Linked DNA regions of Homo sapiens: region 1 is linked to region 2. Evidence: promoter capture Hi-C in 16 types of primary human blood cells and fetal thymus (Javierre and others, 2016). All regions are on one chromosome and are shown on one strand. The core of a region is centred on a gene start or on the middle of the fragment in contact, and the rest is flanking DNA. Distances in the headings are between cores, read along the strand shown. Region 1 has its middle 21 kb from the start of ZXDA. Region 2 holds the start of SPIN2B (spindlin family member 2B).

The links. The method cuts DNA at HindIII sites, captures the fragments that hold promoters and counts their contacts. A CHiCAGO score of 5 or more calls a contact.
Region 1: a fragment that was not itself captured here is called in contact with the fragment with the promoter of SPIN2B in region 2 in 1 of 17 cell types (total CD8 T cells); the score reaches 5.2 in total CD8 T cells.

The regions. Positions count from the first base shown.
Region 1 is chrX:57,887,630-57,891,750 of GRCh38, reverse strand. No RefSeq gene overlaps it. Among named protein-coding and RNA genes, the nearest start is that of ZXDA, 21 kb to the left of the region's middle. The HindIII fragment of the contact is 7,004 bases long and covers 1-4,121 here.
Region 2 is chrX:57,118,641-57,122,884 of GRCh38, reverse strand. It overlaps SPIN2B (spindlin family member 2B), which reads left to right and starts at 1,337. Exons shown (of 2, transcript NM_001006681.2): 1 at 1,337-1,647; 2 at 2,254-3,203. The coding sequence starts at 2,256. The coding sequence ends at 3,032. It also overlaps a transcript of FAAH2 not described here. RefSeq lists a silencer at 1,050-1,169. The HindIII fragment of the contact is 2,706 bases long and covers 416-3,121 here.

The sequences.
Region 1 (4,121 bases), core at 116-2,615, 770 kb before region 2:
CTAGTTCCCAGCCAGGCAAGCTGCTTCGAACCCTCTCCTTCTGGTGCTTTCTTTCACTTCTTCAGTGAATCCTAGCATTCCCTGCTAAACGATCTGTTCAAAATGTGCGTATCCACTTAACTATTCTAATTCCTCTCTGTGGAGGAAGCACAGACTACCAGCATCTCATCAGATATTTTGATCCCTAACATTTTAAAGATTTTTCTATATATAAGATTGTGTTCTGTGTAAAGATGGATTTGAATTCCTCTTGTTCAATTTAGATGTCTTCTATTTCCTTGTCTTGCCTTATTGTTCTAGATAAGACTTCCAGTACCATAGTGAGTTAGAGTGGTGAACGTGGGCTTCTAGGTCTTGTCCCAGTTCTTAGGGAAAGGGTTCATCTTTTCCCCATGCAGTATGATGTTAGCTCTGTGCAGGTTGTAGAAAACCTTAATTATGTTGAGTTACCTTCTTTCTCTGTTTAATTTCTGAGTCTTCATCATGAAGAGATGTTGAATTTTATCAAATGTTTTTGCTGCATCTATTGAGATGATTATATGGTTTTAGTATTTCATTGTATTCATGTTATATATCACATTTACTGATTTGCATATGTGAAACCATCCTTGTATTACTGGAGTAACTACCAACAGATCAGGATGTTTCTTTTTATGTGCTGTTAGATTCAGTTTGATAGTATTTTGTTGAGGATTTTTGCATCTATATTTATCAGGAATATTGACCTATACTTTTTTTTAGTTATGTCTTTGTGGTGATTTGGGTATCAGGATAATACTGGCTTCATAGAATGAGTTAGAGTTACCTTCTCTTAATTTTTTTTGGAATAGTTTGAGAAGAATTGGTGTTAATTCTTTATATCAGGCAGACAGCATGGGCAAGAAGAGAACTCAGCAGTAAAGATATCTGACCCTAGGCTTTTCTCTGTCAAGGGACATTTCATTGTTGATTCAATTAGTGTCCTCAGGTTTTCTATTTCTTTGTGACCCAGTATTGGTAGGTTGTATGTGTCTAGGAATTTATTGATTTTCTGTAGGTTTTCTAATTTTTTAGTGTATAGTTGATATGGTTTGGCTGTGTCCTCACCCAAAATTTCATCTTGAATTGTAATAATCCCCATATGTCAAGGGTGGGACCAGGTGGAGATAATTGAATCATGGGGGTGTTTTCCCCCATCCTTTTCTTGTGATAGTGAGTTAGTTCTCACAAGATCTGATGGTTTTATAAGGGGCTTCCCCCTTTGCTGGGTACTCATTCTTCCCCTTCCTACCGCATGAGAAGAAGGATGCGTTTGCTTCCCCTTCGGCCATGATTGTAAGTTTTCTGAGGCCTCCCCAGCCCTGTGAAACTGTGAGTCAATTAAACCTCTTTCCTTTATAAATTACCCAGTCTCAGGCAGTTTTTTTATAGCAGTGTGAGGATGGACTAATACAATAAATTGGTACCAGTAGATTGGGGTGTCACTACAAGGCTACCCAAAAATGTGCAAGCTACTTTGGACCTGTGTAATAGGCAGAAGTTGGAACAGTTTTTAGGACTCAGAAGAAGACAGGAAAATGTGAGAAAGTGTGGAACTTCCTAGAGACTTGGCAGGCTCAGAAGACAGAAAGATGTGGGAAAGTTTGGAATTTCCTAGGGATTTGTTGAATGGCTTTGACCAAAATGCTGAGAGTGATATAGACAATGAAGTCCAGGCTGAGGTGGTCTCAGATGGAGATGAGAAACTTTTTGGGAACTGGAATAAATGTGACTCTTGCTATGTTTTAGCAAAGAGACTAGAAGCATTTTGCCCCTGCCCTAGAGATCTTGAACTTGAGAGAGATGATTTAGGGTATCTGGCAGAAGAAATTTCTAAACAGCAAAGCATTCAAGATGTGACTTGGGTGCTGTTAAAAGCATTCAGTTTTATGTATTCACAAAGATATGGTTTGGAATTGGAGCTTATGTTAAAAGGGAAGCAGATCATAAAAGTTCAGAAAATTTGCAGCCTGATGATGTGATAGAAAAGAGAAACCCATTTTCTGGGGAGTAATTCAAGCTGGCTGCAGAAATTTGCATAAGTAATGAAGAGCCAAGGGTAAATCTCCAAAACAATGGGGAAATGGTCTCCAGGGCATATCAGAGGTCTTCATGGCAGTACCTCCCATCACAGGCCCAGAGGCCTGGCCTCCTAGTCTTACTGCTTTGTGCAGTCTCAAGACTTGGTGCCCTGTGTCCCAGCCATGGCTAAAAGGGGCCAAGGTACAGCTCGGGCCATGGCTTCAGAGTGTACAAGCCCCAAGCCTTGACAGCTTTCACATGATGTTGAGCCTGTGGGTAGACAGAAGTCAATAATTGAGGTTTTAGAACCTCCCCCTAGATGTCAGAGGATGTATGGGAATGCCTCAATGTCCAGGCAGAAGTGTGATACAGGGGCAGAGCCCTCATGAAAAACCTCTGCTAAGGTAGTGTGGAAGGGAAATGTGGGGTTGAAGCCCCCACACAGAATCTCCACTGGAGCACTGCCTAATGGAGCTATGAGAAGAGGGCCACCATCCTCCAGACTCCAGAATTGTGGAGCCACTGACAGCTTGCACAGTGCACCTGGAAAAGCCACAGACACTCAAAACCAGCCAGTGAATGCAGCCAGGAGTGGGGCTGTGCCCTGCAAAGCAACAGGGATGGAGCTGCCCAAGACCATGGGAGCCCACCTCTTGCATCAGCATGACCTGGATGTGAGACATGGAATCAAAGGAGATTATTTTGGAACTTTAAGGTTTAATGATTACATGGGGGCTCTAACCCCTTTGTTTTGGCCAGTTTCTCCCATTTGGAACAGATGTATTTGTCCAATGCCTGTACCCATTTTATCTAGGAAGTAACCACTTGCTTTTGATTTTACAGGCTCATAGGTGGAATGGACTTGCCTTGTCTCAGATGAGACTTTGGACTTGGACTTTTGAGTTAATACTGGAATGAGTTAATATTTTAGGGGACTGTTGGAAGGGTGTGATTGTGTTTTGAATTGTGAGGACATGAGATTTGGGAGGGCCTAGTGGTAGAATATTATGGTTTGGCTGTGTCCCCACCCAGAATTTCATCTTGAATTGCAATAATCCCCATGTGTCAAGGGATGACCACGTGGAGATAATTGAATCATGGGGGTGGTTCTCCCCATCCTGTTCTTGTGATAGTTAGTTCTCACGAGATCTGATGGTTTTATAAGAGGCCCTTTGGTGGGCACTCATTCTTCCCCATTCTACTGCCATAAGAAGAAGGACATATTTGCTTCTCCTTCTGCCATGATTGTTAATTTCCTGAGGCCTCTGCAGCTCTGCAGAACGGTGAGTCAATTAAACATCTTTTCATTGTAAATTACTCATTCTCAGGCAATTGTTTATAGCGGCATGAAGATGGACTAGTACAATAGTTTGAATTGTCTCTAATGACCTATTATATTTCCATACTATTAGTTGTCATGTCTTTGTTTTATTTTTCATTTCTAATTTTATTTGAGTTTTCTTTTATTATTGGTTATTAGAGTTGGGAGTTCATAATTTTTTTATTTTTTTTGTAGAACCAACTTTTTAATTCTTCTATCCTTTGCATTGTTTATTTAGTCCTTATTTTGTTTACTTCTGTTCTGATATTTCTACCTTCTACTAATTTTAGGTTTGGATTATTATTTTATTTTCATTCCTTGAGCTTCATTATTAGGTTGAATACTTGAAATCTTTCCACATTTTGGATGTAGGTATATACTCCTATAAACTTTCCTCTTCATACTTCTTTTCTGTGTCACATATTTTTTGTTGTATTTTTAATTTGTTTCAAGATTGTTTTTTATTAATTTCTTTATTTATCCAATGATTGTTTGGGAGCACGTTTTTTTTTTTTATTTCTGTAGTTTCCAAATTTTTTCTTTTTGACTTTTTATTTCAATGTGTTCTGAGAAGATACTTGATATGATTTTTGTTTTTAACACTTTGTTGAAACTTGCTTTGTGGCCTCACATATGGTCTGTCCTGGAGAGTGTTCAATGAGCTAATGAGAAGAATGTGTATTTTGTATTTGTTGTATGAAATGTTCTGTAAATGTTTGTTACGTTCATTTTGTCTATAGTGCTGATTAATCCTAGTGAG
Region 2 (4,244 bases), core at 88-2,587:
AATGACATTAAGTAATATTTTAATGTTCTTTCATACTTTGACTGTTGAATCGAGATTATTATTACTTCTATTTTTCCTTGTAGATGTTATTTTATTAAGTGTAGTTGTTCTGTTAACATCCGACTCATCCCCTCATTCAAATACCATAAGTATCTGAATAAGAAAGATACCATTAAGCATTGTTTTGTTTACAGAGTTTTTGGTTGGTTCATTTGCTTTCTGTTCAATTTTATTTTGCTGCTTTTTACCTTTTAATAAATCAAATATTGATACTGGTACAACATTAGTATACAACCTTTCTCAAAATATTTAAATAATTATTTCAACATTCCTTAAAGAATACCCAACGTTTCTCCACTGATTTATAAAACTATAACTTTAATTATTTCTTATAAAGTTATTTTTTTGCAAAGCTTTCTATTCCGATACATAGATCTGATTACTGGTTATTGTGGAAATATTATGTCAAATGCCCAGTACTGGGAGAAAAGCCAAATTATAAATCACTTTAAAATTGAGTTTTACGGACCAAGTGCAAGATATGTAACAGGTGCTCAATAAATATTTGTTGAATGAAAAAATCGATTAGAAAACATCTAATTTCCTGGAAAAATTAATAGACATGAATTGCAGATAAAAAACAAATCCCAGTTTTGCAAAAGTTTAGGAAAAAGGAAAAAAAACTATGAGCATTAATATTTTGCTGTGAGGCCCTCAAAAATGGGAGATGGGACTGCAGTTGATGATTTTCCTCTTAATATTAATTTCCTAAAATGTAGATAGTGTTCACGTTGTACATGCAATTATCTTGCAATAAAGAAAAGGAAAAAAAAATCCCTCGAAAACAAAAACAAAAATGCCAGGAAATATCAGTCAGCAAAAATTAGGTAGAGACTGGGTCAAAATGGCAGACTTACCATAGTGAATTTCTCTGTTCCAACTCCAAATCCTTTCAAAAAGAGGAAAGACATATTTACGTGTAAAGAATAAATCCATAAGGGCATGGGACGGTGCAGGGGCAGGGGTGGGCGCGGGGGTGGGCGCGGGGCGGCAGCAAGGCGAATTCCAAGAAGATGGAAAGCAGGGCAGGCAGACTAAGAAGGTGGAGGTGGGAACCAAGTGGCCCTGAAACGGGTGAGGAAGGGGCCACAGGGTTCCGAGGACGACTGTGGCACGAACTACTCCGGATTTGGAAAGAGGCGGAGTCAGAGCCCATAGCTCCGCCGGGGCTACAGGCTGTGTGGTGGGCGTGGGAGCCTGGTGGAGAGGAGAGCCGGGTGTTTGACAGGAAGAGGAGGCCTCTCTCTGGGCAGGAAGCTGCGCTACGGAAAGAGGGAGGAGACTGCCGCGGCGACAGCAGGGACTGGTGGAATCCCGATGTGGCTGAGGGGCCGCCACCGCCAGCAGGGAGGCGGAGGGCTAGCGAGCCAAGCGGTGGGGACGCCGCTGCCTTCCTCTTTGCCTGTCTCGCCGCCCTCCTAGACACGCTCCTCATCTACGGATCCTACCCTCCCCGCTCTTGCAAGCATTCACTCGGCCGGTCGCCTGCTGACCCTCCTTCGCCACAGGCTCGTAGCGGAGGCAGCAGCGAGGTGTCCGATTTGGGCACGTGAGGCCCGCGATCCCCGGCGGTGGACGCCAGGCAGGGCAAGGCCATTAGTGGGCGCCAGAATGGAGAGGGGGATGGGAAGGAATCCAGCAGGAGACATGGGGTGGAGTTGGGCGCCAGGCAAGGGTGGGGTGGGGGAGTGCGGTGAGCAACATGAAAAGGGGGTAGGAACGGGAGCCAGACAAGGATTTGAAGGTGAGCGCCGGGAAGCAAGGGCGGTGGGTACCAGAGAAGTGGTTAGGGTAGGCAGGGGGTGTTGTGGACAGCAGCTGGGACGCTCAGGGAAGGAGGGCAGTGGGTGCCGGTCAAGGCCTCTTTGCAAGGGGATTGGAAGTGGACGCCAGTGGTAGCAAGGGGTTCCGGGAGGGCAGTGGGCTCTGAGCTAGGAGGAGGTGGCCCAGCCACTTCTGCAGAGTTCCTAACCCCAGACAGCTCTACTGCACCACCCCAGCCCTTCCCCACAGCCCAAAGGAACTTAAGAGGGAGAGCACTGCGGGCATGCAGCCAGGATTTCCAGCATTGCTTCCAGGCTCCTAGGGGAAACTTAGGCACTAGCGCAGACTACATCCAGACATGGCTATAGGGAAAAGTTTGCCTTGTGGCACACTGGGTGTGTCTCTCTATCCTCTCTCCTCCCCCAGCAGGCATGAAGACCCCCAACGCACAGGAAGCCGAAGGGCAACAAACCAGGGCAGCTGCAGGACGGGCCACTGGGTCTGCAAACATGACAAAGAAAAAAGTCTCCCAAAAGAAGCAGAGAGGCCGACCTTCATCCCAGCCCCGCAGGAACATCGTGGGCTGCAGAATTTCTCATGGATGGAAGGAAGGAGATGAGCCCATCACGCAGTGGAAAGGAACCGTTCTGGATCAGGTGCCTATAAATCCCTCTCTTTATCTGGTGAAATATGATGGAATTGACTGTGTCTATGGACTGGAACTTCACAGAGATGAAAGGGTTTTGTCTCTTAAAATTCTTTCTGACAGGGTGGCATCATCTCACATTAGTGATGCCAACCTTGCAAATACCATAATTGGCAAAGCAGTGGAACATATGTTTGAGGGAGAGCATGGTTCTAAGGATGAATGGAGGGGGATGGTCTTAGCTCAAGCACCTATCATGAAAGCCTGGTTTTATATTACCTATGAGAAAGATCCTGTCTTGTACATGTACCAGCTTCTAGATGATTATAAGGAAGGTGACCTCCGCATCATGCCAGAATCCAGTGAGTCTCCTCCAACAGAGAGGGAGCCAGGAGGAGTTGTAGATGGCCTAATAGGTAAGCATGTGGAATATACCAAAGAAGATGGCTCCAAAAGGATCGGCATGGTCATTCACCAAGTGGAAGCCAAACCCTCTGTGTATTTCATCAAGTTTGATGATGATTTCCATATCTATGTCTACGATTTGGTGAAAAAGTCCTAACTGTTAGGGTAAAATTTGGCACATGTGTGGAAACAAATGTATAATTTGTAGACATGCAAAAAATGTTGCCTTTCAGTGTATTGAAAGCTTATGGAATCCCTGATAACTAAACATCTTTGCCAGCATTAACTGTTGTTTTGCTCTAAAAAATACAAACTTGTGTGTACATGACATGCTGTGTGTAAGCCCTTTGTCTTGTTGAAAAGATCGGGTGTGTTTGGTGAATGGGGCATGAAAAGAAGGAACAGCTATCAGAGAGCTTGTGGCTTAGAGGAAAATACACAGAATAAATTGAGTAGAGAGGAACACAAAGAACCTTAGAAGAGGTCCAGAGTAAAGAGGAGAAGGATCAACCTGACAGGGTCTGTGGAGAGGATAAAGGATACTCAATGGAAGAGGCTATGTGGGTTAGAGTGTTAGAGAGGTTAGAAGAAGAGGGCCACTGAGGAAGAAGGAGTTCAAAGAAGAAAGACTGACAGAGGGATTGGGAATACAGGAAAAGAGTTGTGGGGTGTGGGGCCCATGAGAGATCGGAAGGCCCAGGAAAATGTTGGACTTCTGGTAGTGTCCACATTGCTCTTCCTGGCTCTATGCACAAAGGAAGTGGCATCTGTCAAAGATGCCAGATACATTGGAGGTTCCCTAGAAGGGCATTCTGACAAGGATGACTCAGTAAGGTTAATCAGGAGGAAAGTTTATACCCGTAAGGCTTTTCCTGTTTCAGGGAGTTCAGGACGCTCCTACCCAGCAGAACCCCAACCCTCAGCCTGAACACACTAACACGGTTCCCCACATGTGCTGGGCTGCGGGCTGCCTCCTCACATTTGTCCTGCGCTAGATAAACAATATTGGTAGAGGATGGGTTAGTGGGTCAGAACTTAAGAGATGTGCCATCTTGCATTTGGAAAGTACTTTACCCAGAAAAAAATGGAACCTTACTGAACTCAGGTACAGCAGTCTCATCACACCGGTTCCTTCTGCTGGAATGTTTGTTTTCTATCTAGAGACGAGGGGCATCAGAAGATTGAGCCTAGTGTTTCTCTCCAGGTTATGGGGAGTTCCTGACTGTCCACACTTCTTTCAGCAGCTGCCTGAAACCACAGGTGGTTCCGACAAATAATCCACTAAAAGAGGCCTGCTGTCCCAAGAATCCACATTCTGGTTAGACCTTCCCCACAAAGCTGGTGTCTGCAGACCCCTCACAGGCACCTG